Linked DNA regions of Homo sapiens: all the other regions are linked to region 4. Evidence: promoter capture Hi-C in 16 types of primary human blood cells and fetal thymus (Javierre and others, 2016). All regions are on one chromosome and are shown on one strand. The core of a region is centred on a gene start or on the middle of the fragment in contact, and the rest is flanking DNA. Distances in the headings are between cores, read along the strand shown.

What was found. Contacts are between HindIII fragments. The CHiCAGO score rates a contact against its expected background, and 5 or more counts as called.
Region 1: a fragment that was not itself captured here is called in contact with the fragment with the promoter of MTG2 in region 4 in 17 of 17 cell types (naive CD4 T cells, activated CD4 T cells, M2 macrophages and 14 more); the score reaches 16.7 in naive CD4 T cells.
Region 2: a fragment that was not itself captured here is called in contact with the fragment with the promoter of MTG2 in region 4 in 15 of 17 cell types (activated CD4 T cells, M2 macrophages, naive CD8 T cells and 12 more); the score reaches 9.6 in activated CD4 T cells.
Region 3: a contact is called between a fragment that was not itself captured here and the fragment with the promoter of MTG2 in region 4, in 8 of 17 cell types (M2 macrophages, monocytes, M1 macrophages and 5 more). The highest score is 11.2, in M2 macrophages.

The regions. Positions count from the first base shown.
Region 1 is chr20:62,008,388-62,011,087 of GRCh38, forward strand. It overlaps TAF4 (TATA-box binding protein associated factor 4), which reads right to left. Exons shown (of 15, transcript NM_003185.4): 4 at 1,659-1,778; 5 at 665-787. Among named protein-coding and RNA genes, the nearest start is that of MIR3195, 55 kb to the right of the region's middle. The HindIII fragment of the contact is 5,713 bases long and covers 1-2,700 here.
Region 2 is chr20:62,041,440-62,044,139 of GRCh38, forward strand. All of the region lies in intron 1 of TAF4 (TATA-box binding protein associated factor 4), which reads right to left. Among named protein-coding and RNA genes, the nearest start is that of MIR3195, 22 kb to the right of the region's middle. The HindIII fragment of the contact is 3,785 bases long and covers 1-2,700 here.
Region 3 is chr20:61,990,270-61,992,969 of GRCh38, forward strand. The region is part of intron 14 of TAF4 (TATA-box binding protein associated factor 4); the gene reads right to left. Among named protein-coding and RNA genes, the nearest start is that of MIR1257, 38 kb to the left of the region's middle. The HindIII fragment of the contact is 9,088 bases long and covers 1-2,700 here.
Region 4 is chr20:62,181,612-62,184,311 of GRCh38, forward strand. MTG2 (mitochondrial ribosome associated GTPase 2) reads left to right here and starts at 1,417. Exons shown (of 7, transcript NM_015666.4): 1 at 1,417-1,446. It overlaps SS18L1 (SS18L1 subunit of BAF chromatin remodeling complex), which reads left to right. Exons shown (of 11, transcript NM_198935.3): 11 at 1-903. RefSeq lists silencers at 1,046-1,235, 1,275-1,459, 1,466-1,635. The HindIII fragment of the contact is 5,602 bases long and covers 180-2,700 here.

The DNA of each region.
Region 1 (2,700 bases), core at 69-2,568, 170 kb before region 4:
ATGAGGCTGAGGAAGGTGGACAGCCGAGAGCTCGGCCATGAGTGGAGATCTGGAGCTTGGGACTGTGGGTTAAGGAGAGGGGAGGCTGCCAGGAATCCTCCCTCCCACCTTCCGGCCAGGGGACAGAGTGCTGTTCTCTGCGACAGAGGTTTCGGGAGGGGTGGGGGTGGGGGGGACGGCTCTGCCACTGGAGCGCGAATGTGCCTCAGCTGGTCTGCTCCATGGGGAGGGGGCTTCTGGTGGCTCAGGGTGCAGAATGCCTGTTCCAGCCGGGACTGCGGACACCTGGGAATTTTATAAGAGGTCACACAGGAGTGGGGAGAGGGCCAGAAGGGAGTTGCTGGAGACCCTGACCAGAGTGCAGCATGGTTGGGGCAGCCAGAGGAGAAGAGAGCCACAGACAAGGGACGCAGGCACCAGAAAACGGCAAAGCCCGGGAGACCTCCAGGCGCCGGCCCCAGAACACCCAGCCCCAGGAAGGAGTCTCCTTAGCTAGGCCACACACGCCTTCGACACGTGTGCACCCCTCCCCTTCGCCTGCAGCCTTCCAGAGGAGCTCTCCCTGCTGGCACAGGCCTCCCGGGCACAGGTCACAGCAGCAACAGGTGTCTGTCCTATGCAACAGGCTTTAGGGGAAAGGGAATGTAAAGTCAAGGTTTCTCACCAGTAAATTCTGCACGAGCTCTTTCACATTAGCTGCTGTCTCTGTAGACTGCTTGCCAGATGAAGCCAGTTTTATTAACGTAGATAGGAAATTTTTACATTTCTTCACGTTTTCCATAGTTTCCTGGATTAAAGTAAAAAGATATAAGTGAAAAATCTTAAAAGGCAGATTTTTGTCACAGCCTTTGGTTACTAAAATATGCATATGTACAAAAGATACATATATTTCTTCTCTAAACTTCTTTCAAGAAAACGCACCACCTCTTGGAACCCTGGGCCATGGGGCAGGCCAGCCACATCAGTCACATGGCCACCGAAGTCAGCATCTCCCTCAGCCCCGCAAGGCCACATCTAGGAATGCAGCTATGCAAATAATTAAAAAAGTGAAAAGAGACTCTGCGAAGATGCCTGCTACAATGTTGCTGACCATAAGGACAACCTATGCCAATCCAAACGGACACAGAAGGAACCAAATAGGATGCGGTCACTAAAGCAACGAAAAGTACGCAGCAAAGAAACACCAAAAAGGCGTCAAGTGGGGCCCACTGTTTAAAGATGTCTATCGATACAGGCCGACACTGTGTGTACAAACGGGTGGCGCTGCTGTTTTACACACTGAACACAACAGTTCACCAGTGACTCTTCTGTTTTAATAAAGATGTGTATCGATACAGGCCGACACTACGAGTGTGTACAAACGGGTGGCGCTGCTGTTTTACATACAACGCGACAGTGCACCAGTGACTTTTTCAAAGGCAGGTGTTTGGGCTTTTGCTGTTTGCAGACTTCTGCGGTCTAAGGCCCTCGGAGCCCACCTCACACAGCACAGCAGCAGAGCCCCACGTGCTCACGTGGGCCCCAGACTGTTCACTGCTTTGTGAAGCAAGCAGTGAGCGGTCTGGGACAGAAGCCGGCCTGAGGTCTCAAGGCTGCATTTTCTGACCTGCGCCACGGGCCTGACCGTCTTTGAAGGCACGGAAAGGAGTGGCTCTTACCGTGGCAGCTGAGGAAGTGGTGGTCGCCCCTGGTACCGTGCGCTGAGGAGTCCCCGTCTGAACAGCCGTCGCCGTCCCAAGTGAAGCCGTCTGGGCAGCGCCACCCAGAACGAGCTGAGGCTACAAGAATCCAAAAACACAAGGTAAGGGCATCTCACGCCACCAGCTGACGAGGGGGAGACCAGCCTCACGCCCAGCAAAAGAAAACAAGCCTCCCTGCGGTGGCCAGGACGCCCAGGAAGCCAAGGACCCCGGCCACCTGCCAGCCCGCTGGACACGGGAGTGCTGCTGGGAGGCCTGCCCTGTGCCCTGACGATCGCAGTCCTGAGCGGGTGAGGAAGGCATGATTTGCACCTGCATCAAAAACGGACGTTCACAAAGCCAGGCACTGCAGAGACCCCAGTCCTCAGAAGTCCATGGAAAAAGTCACATAGAGACCAGAGTAAATAATCCTAACAGGCAACCCAGATCCCCATCTCTCAGAAATCAAAACAACAAACAGAAGAACGGCTCCTGAAAGCTCCATCCTCCCAGGTGCAGAGGCTGGCTACAGGGCGGTCAGGGCTCCACAGCCGCAGCCTCCCATAGGGGAGGGTCCCCAGCTCCCTGCAATCACCCAAACCCACCTTTCTTTACTCCCCAAAAGTGAGTGTCAACAAGAAGCCTCCCACAGAGGGGAGTTTTCAGAGCAGATTCGAGCAATGGAGGATGGGTCATCAGTGTCAAACTGTCAGAAAGGAGGGGCTGCTTTGCTAAGCAAATGAACAGCCAGACGCCAAAAGGTAGCTCAGACAACTCAGTGGCCTGTACTCGATTCCTAACATTTCCATTCTACATGAATAATCAGAATGCAAATGTTTACTGATATTTTAAACTAGTACTTTTCCAATGTATAAATCTAGCAGTCAACATTTTCTGTCTCCAATTTTTTAAACACTCCTTTGCAACTTCTGAAAGCAGGGGGCAGTGTAAGCCTGAGAATGGCTCCGGAGCAGCGAGCTCTCTCCCGGTGGGTGCAGCCCCGCCAGCACGTGGGAAGCAA
Region 2 (2,700 bases), core at 107-2,606, 140 kb before region 4:
TAACAGGGTGAAACCCCATCTCTACTAAAAATACAAAAAATCAGCCAGGCGTGGTAGCATACGCCTGCAGTCCCAGCTACTTGGGAGGCTGAGACAGGAGAATTGCTTGAACCCGGGAGGCAGAGGTTGCAGTGAGCCGAAATTGCGCCACTGCACTCCAGCCTGGGCAACAGAGCGAGAATCCATCTCAAAAAAAAAAGAAAAAAGAAAAGTATGGCACACTGACCAGGTGCAGTAGCTCACCACTTTGAGCGGGTGAGATGGGAAGACTGCCTCAGGCCAGGAGTTTAAGACCAGCCTGGGCAACAAAGCAAGAGCCCTTCTCTCTAAAAAAAAAAAAAATTGAAACATCAGCCAGGCACAGTGGCTGTAGTTGCAGCTACTTAGGGGAGGCCAAGGCAGGAGGATCACATGAGCCCAGGAGTTCAAGGCACCACTGCACTCCAGCCTGAGTGACAGAGTGAGGCCCTATCTCCTAAAAAAAAAAAACCCTCCCACATACAATTCTGTAGCATACAGAATACTGGCTAATGATACAGACAGGAGGCAAGGAAATACTGGGTAGAAGAGGGCAATTTCCCAGCAAAGGCCCCACCCTCAAGCCTGGACACCTGCAGCCCTAAATGGGAACAGGCATTCCTGTTTCCGCGCCCAAATGTTGCCTTTTCCAAGACTAATCTGGCCTGCCACGCCCCTATCTGGTGCCCATATAAACCCCAAGCTCCACTGACGAGAGCAAAGTGGCGCAGCAGAGAAGGAGAAAAGAGAAGGAGCGTCTGAATGTCGAGAGGGGTTTGGCTGGGCACCGTCCAGGAGGAGATCGGCTGCGGGACGGCTGAACTCCAGAGGAAGATCATCTTCTCACTCCATCCCCTTGCCAGCTCATCCATCTCACTGAAGGCCACCTCCATCACTCAATAAAATCCCCACAAATGCCATCCTTCAAGTCCGTGTGACCTGATTCTTCCTGGACACCGCACAAGGACTCGGGTACCGAGAGGGCAGGGGGAAAAAGGCTGTCGCCTGACTCTCTGCTGAGCTGGTTAACACTTAGCCATCTGAGAATGGCAACTGCTAAAAGAGCATTCATTGTAATCTACCCCTAGGTGCTACTGTGGGGCGGGAGCCCAAAAGGGCTCACCCGGGCTCCTGCACCTGCCCGTCTGCACGCTCCCCTGCACGCTCCCCTTCCAGCAAATGAGCCACAGCCCCTGTTGCAAGTACCCAGAGCGGGTCAGGGAACTCTCCTGTTTCAATGATAATTAGCAACAATGTTACTGGTTTACATATTCACTACATTCTACTTCCCATCACTGTTTCAGAAATATACTGCATCTACTTATTAAAACTTACAGTTAACTGTAAAGCAGCCTCAGGCAGGTCCTTCAGGAAGAGTCCAGAAGAAGGTACTGATATCATAGGGATGACGGCTCCATGTGTGTTACTGCCCCTGAAGACTGCAGGGAGACGGGACTTGGAGGTGGAGGGCAGTGATGTGGATGATCCTGACTCTGTAGGCCTAGGCTAACGTGTGCTTGTGTCTTGTTTCTAACAAGTAAGTTTAAAAAGTAATAAATAATTTTAAAAATGGAAAAAAGCTCGCTGGGCGTGGTGGCACACGTCTGTAAACCCAGCATTTCTGGAGGCTAAGACAGGCAGATCGCTAGAGCCCAGGAGTCCAAGACCAGTCTGGGCAACACGGTGAAACCTACAAAAAAATACAAAAATTAGCCCGGCATGGTGGCCACGCCTGCCTGTAGTTCCAGCTATCCGGGAGCCTGAGGTGGGAGGATCTCCTGAGCCCAGGAGGTCAAGGCTGCAGTAAGCCATGATTGCGTCACTGCACTCCAGCCTGGGTGACAGAGCTTACAGAATAAGGATACAAAGAAAGTATTTTTTTGCACAGCTGTATAATGTGTTTGTGTTTTAAGCTAAGTGTTACTACAAAAGAGTCAAAAAGTTTGAAAAAGTTAAGTTTATAAAGTTATAGTAAGTCAAGGTTATTACTGAAGAAAGAAAACTGTGTTTTTATAAATTCCATAGTCCCTAAGCATACCCTAAGCATAGAGTGCCCCAGAGCCTACAGCAGCACAGTCATGTCCCAGGCCTCTCAGACTCCCGCAGAGCAACACCCAGTCCTGCAAGCGCCATTCATGGTGAGTGCCCTACACAGATGCACCATTTTTCATCTTTTATCCCCTAGTTTTACTGTACCTTTTCTATGTTTAGATACACAAACTCACTATCGTGTTACAACTGTACACGTCACAAGCCATGCAGGTTTACAGCCCAGGAGCCAGGGGCCGCACCACACAGCCTAAGAGTGTAGCAGGCTGTGCCATCCAGGTTTGTGTTAGTATATTCCACGATGCTCGCACAACGATGACATTGCCTAATGATGCGTTTCTAGAATGTATCCCCATCACTAAGTGGCGCGCGACTGTACCTGGTTTACACATAATTCCAGGAAGTATTTCTAAGCCCACTGCAGGCTGGACGGGAAGACACAGAGGCAGGGCCCGTTAGCTAACCCAGGCTTCAGCCTCCCACCAATGCAAAGACCACCCTGCCTGGCCTTCCCTTAAGACTGAGCCTCCCCTGTCTCCAGCCCAATATTCCCAGGCAGAGCTAACTTGTGCTTATTATATGCTTTTTGCCTTGGCAGAGAAAAATATATGTATTTTTTAAACTATTTCCTTC
Region 3 (2,700 bases), core at 92-2,591, 190 kb before region 4:
CACCGGAGTCTGCACGGAGCTCCTTACTCTGTTCTTGCAACTTTTCTGTAGATTTGAAAACTACTTCAAACTAAAATAAGTAATTTTCAAAGTTAATGTATTCTGGAAGACGATGACAGGGGTAGCATAGTTTCTGGATCTTCCCAAAGTTCCACATAAAAGAGCAACGACACAGCAAAACCAAAAGCCAGCGGACAATCTTTAGAACAAAACTGATGAAGATGAACCACAAGCAGCCATCACCTGAAGGACGCTGCAGAACTGGACCCCGACGGGCCTGGACCCAGGAGCCAGCAGACTTCCTGGGAAGAGCAGCAGGTCCCTCCAAGAGCCGCAGTCAAACCTGGGGCAGGGGAGGACCAGGGAGGGCAGCCTGGCCACCGCAAATGCCCACACTGACCTGCCAGGGCTCCTGCAGCACAGGGCCTCACGCAGGAGAGAACCTGCTGGGAGTGAATCAGTACTGAGCAGGACAGGGACAAGGAAGGCAAAGCAAAGTCCAGATGCTTGGGAGGTGCACAGAGCCCCGGAGCCACAGACGCTGAGGACTCCCGTTCTTAACATCACGGGAAAGTAACCACAGAGGAGCACCACAAAGTCAGCAAACGCTGCAAACCACGTGTCCTGTTACAAGTTCGAGAAACCTAAACTCACGTCGAAATTAGCAACAGAAAGACATTCAGGTCAAATCCCAGACAGGCTCCCATGAGAGAAAAAGAGGATAAAAAGCAGAAGAGCATCCCTACAGACCACAGAAGACCTCAGAAACACATACTCAAAACAGCAGGTAAACAGCAAATCACGCCTTAAGAGAAATGGAAGCCAAAAAGGACAAAAAAGATAATTTTTTAAAAAAGAGAAAAATTAGGCCAGGCACAATGGCTCACACCTGTAATCCCAGCACTTTGGGAGGCTGAGACGGGCAAATCACTTGAGGTCTGGAGTTTGAGACCAGCCTGGCCAACATGGTGAAACCCTGTCTCTACTAAAAATACAAAAAAATTAGCTGGGTGTGGTGGTGCACACCTGTAATCCCAGCTACTCAGGAGGCTGAGGCAGAAGAAAACCAGGAGGCAGAGGTTGCCATGAGCTGAGATCACACCGAGATAGAGCCACTGCACTCCAGCCTGGGTGACAGAGGGAGACTCTGTCTCAAAAAATAAAAATTAAAAAAAAAGAGAGAGAGAAATTAGGCTGGACACAAGTGGCTCAGCAGCATTTAGGGAGGCCAATGTGGGAGGACTGCTTGAACCCTGGAGGTCGAGGCTGCAGTGAGCTGTGATCACACCACTGCACTCCAGCATGGGTGAGAGAGACCCTGTCTCTAAAAAACCAAAAAACAAAAAAAAAGAGAGAGAGAGATTTTAAAAATTAAGAGACTGTAAAAAGTGCTCCAGCAGGCAAAGAAGATACAACACGTGGAAAATGGGACTCTCTGAAGAAAGAAACAAAAGAACAGAACAAACACAAAGGATCATTATTGCAGATGTTCCTAAGGAGACTTGAACCGCACTGAAAGAACACAGCCAGTACTGAGAACACCACCCCAGCACAACCAAGCCCAGCACGCACTCCAGTGGGATGAGCCGGCTTCCGAGAAAAAGGACACCCAGGGAAGAAAAACACGTGGCCTACAGGAGGTAAAATGAGGCTCTCATTAGATTTGGACAGTAACACTTTAGGGAGGAAATAATCCAGAGTAACATCCTTAAGACACTTCAGTAAATACAACGTGAGCCAAAAAACAGACCTTCAGGTACAAAGGGCACAAACTCATCAGCAGGTGGGAACTTGGGAGTGGCTGCTCCCATGAAGCGTTCCAAAAGAATCTAGCAGAGAATGAGATTTGGAAAAATCAAAATGACTACAGAGACACAACATAAAGACGAGTCACGGCATTAAACATGTCATTATTTATGGCACTAAAACTCAAAGAGGGCGAAAGGGAGAGCTTATGGTGTGTAACAGCTAAATGTTTCGACAACATAAATACAGCACAAAATACAAAACGGGGCCAAGGGAGAAAGCACATGAACAACTTTCGGCTGTTTTCACCACCCTCGGCAGGAGTGCCCATATTCTTATTCTCAGGCTATGTCCAAAGGTAGGAGATATTTTAATTCTATTATCTCCTATGTCCATAACCAGGATCCTTTTATTTTAATCTCTCCTTCTCCTGCCCTCCCCTCCAATTCCCCACCCCCCAAGCCCTTGGGGCAGCCAAGAGCCAGAATTCTTACTGTGAAGATAAAGACGTCATTTTGAACATGGTAACTCCTACACCTCTGAATTTGAACTACCTGAATTGGAAATACCCATATAAGCCCATGAGACCATGTTTTACACACATTTCCCAGTGCTGTCCACTGAAAAGGCCAACCCACCCCAGCAGCAATGACATCCCTAGTCCCAGCGAGTGGTCTTCAAACGCCATTTCCCACTAGAAGAAACCAGTTCTTGGAGAAATGACTTTTTCGGTCTGAAACAGGAAAGGTGTAAGGTGAGCCTGACACATGTTAACGTCCAGACGGCAAGGACATCAGCCCCACGTCCCAGCGTGACTCAGGAACCAACCTGGAGATGCTTCCATTGGCCAAAGATGGCACAGTCTGAACTGCAACCAAAATGAGAACTGTAATAGATGGATTATGTGCAAGTCCTTGAGATCACAACGGTAAAAAATAAAAACAACACACTAAA
Region 4 (2,700 bases), core at 167-2,666:
CAAAATAGTTTGTACATTTATTTCCTAATTTATACATGATTTTTGGTGTTAATATATTTAATGATTAATAACAGAATGTTTATTTAATGTGCTGTCCATTTTTATGTAATATTATGGGGAAAGTGATGCCAGCAGTTCCTTTTCATTATTCTATCTTCTGTCATATGAATGTTGAGCAAAGCTTAGGCCAACATGAATTGTTTGTGAAGTGTGGTTGATGGTGCTTTGTTTTTTTCTGACTACTTCTATGGAAGGCCAGTGAAGAAGCAAAGGAAGACATGAAAATTGACGCTCATTCTTCTTCCTATTGTTCCCTGACATCCAGCAAATTGTGAATTTGAAAAATGATGGCCAGTTTTCAGAAGTGCTGACAAATTCATATTGGTATGCAAAAGCTCATCACCCATTAAGGTTTGTTGTTGAATCAACAGTACTCAGCATATTAAAACAGTACATCAGAACTCATGCCAACAGTCTTTATGATGGGATTAAGGTGGACAAGATCTCCTAAGATCTGTGAATGGGATTAAGGTGGACAAGATCTCCTAAGATCTGAAAAGAAACCTTAATACGCTCATATGGTTGGAGTGTTAAGTGAACCTCTGATTTTGTCAGGGTTTTTCTACGTGTAGGCGTGAATAGGGGGCACCCCTTCAAAACTGTACAAAGAAGACGACTGTTTTCCATTTCCATTTAAACATTTTTAGCCACTTCATTTCTATTTATTGAACAGGTCAAATTTGTCTTGTTATTTGTGAGTACAGTACATTTAAAAAACATCCTTATCGGTTATTTTTTTTTCAGTCGGAGTTTGACGTATAAATTGTTTATGCTTTTGGTGTAATCTCTTAATAAACTGGTTCTTCAAAAATCATCCTATAAAGTGAGTTTTCATGAAGTTAACGGGATTTTGGTGTGATGTGTTTTGCAAATACTTATTACCGAGACCAGGTAGATCGTCACCTCGGCTCCCGGGCAGAGTTCGCGTGCGTCCGCACCGGATTCCCCGCGGCGGCAAGGCGAAGCCAGGGTAAGGGCGGTGGGGACGGCGCCCCGGGGCTGCCCTGCGGTCCCCACTGCCTGCTCTGCGTTGCCCCGTAGCCTCCTCGGGCAACGGCGGTGTCCTCGTCAGACCCGGGAGGTTCCGCAAACGCCGGAGGGGTCAGAGAAGCTGGGGGACCTTGGGCACCGGGTGGAACGGGCGGGGCGGCTGTCCTTGTGCTCGGGCAGCGAGGGCGCCGGCGAGAAGCGCGGCTGCAGCTGAGCGCTCCGCATCCCTCCTGCCGTTGCTCCTGCTTCCGCTACCAGGGACAAGGTCGCCTCTCGGTCCGTCGGCGTGTTTTCTGCACCTGCGCACTGGGCAAGCCTTGGGCTTCCGGAGCCAAAAGGCCCCGGAAGTGGTCGGCCGCTTGCGACGCTCCGGAAGTGACGTGCTTTCCCGAGCCGGTGAGTGCGGGAGCGGGGAGCGGGGAGCGTGGGCCTGGGGGGTGGTCGCGGCCCGGGCGCAAGGAGGGGCCTCGGCTTGGGCCGCGGGGTACCGGGGCGCTGGGAGCGGGAGAGGCCCCGGCCTAGGAGCTGAGAGGCCTGGAGGGCTGCCGGGCTGCGAACCCCGGCGGGACCGAGCGCTGCGGCCCTGGAGTAGCGAGCGCTCGGGCGGTGGGGAGCGGCGCCTTGCTCCCCGGTCCTGCCCCACTCTCTCCGCAGAACCGCGTTTTGGGGTCAGAAGTCTTGTCAGCCACCCCGGTGGTGCTCTGTCACGGGATGGGTGCCGTGTGTGAGTTCCGAGTCAAGTTGTTAGGAATTTGCCTTGATCCAGCGCTCTAAGTATTAAACATTTTAAAGTGATTATTGGCAGTATACAGTTGCACAAAACAACATAAATATATACACATTTGGATGATAAAACAACAATAAAGTTTTGTATTGTAAACGCGCCTCAGGGAGACGCATTTCCAGATAATTCACTGTCCGTGGCTGGCTTCTGCCCAGTGAGAGCGGGTTACCCGTTCTATTCCCATTTACGTTCTCGTAGCTGTGGATACCGAGGAACGGCGTTCACACAGACCTGTAGGTGGGAATTAGAGGGGTTGTTGGGCAGTGTCACTAGAGAAATACCTTTCTTTTGTAAAGGGGAGGACCCATTATAAAAGGGGGACGGGAAAGGAGAATTCAAATTGTTTTAAACGCAGGTTCGTCCTCAGGCAGTTCTGTTTTAGCAGAGAGAACGTAGCGAAACTTGGGCAGAAAATGGATTCCTTTGAAATTATCCTGGCCTTAGTCCCTTGGGAAGTCTGTGTAGGCGAACCTCAGTGAGAAGATTCCTGCCGTAAAATGCAGGTGTCAGCAGCATGCCAGGGAGGCCAGAGGATACTATGTGACTTTGGGCAAGTGACTGAACCTCTGTGAGTCTCAGCCTCCACTGCTTTAGATGGGCATAAAAAATGTAAAGTCAAGAATCAGGTTTCCGCTGGGCGCGGTGGCTCACGCCTGTAATCCCAGAACTTTGGGAGGCCAAGGCGGGCAGATCACGAGGTCAGGAGTTAAAGACCAGCCTGGCCAACATGGTGAAACCCCATCTCTACTAAAAATACAAAAAAGTAGCCGGGCGTGGTGGCAGGCGCCTGTAATCCCAGCTACTGGGGAGGCTGAGGCAGGAGAATCGCTTGAACCTGGGAGGTGGAGGTTGCAGTGAGCCGAGAC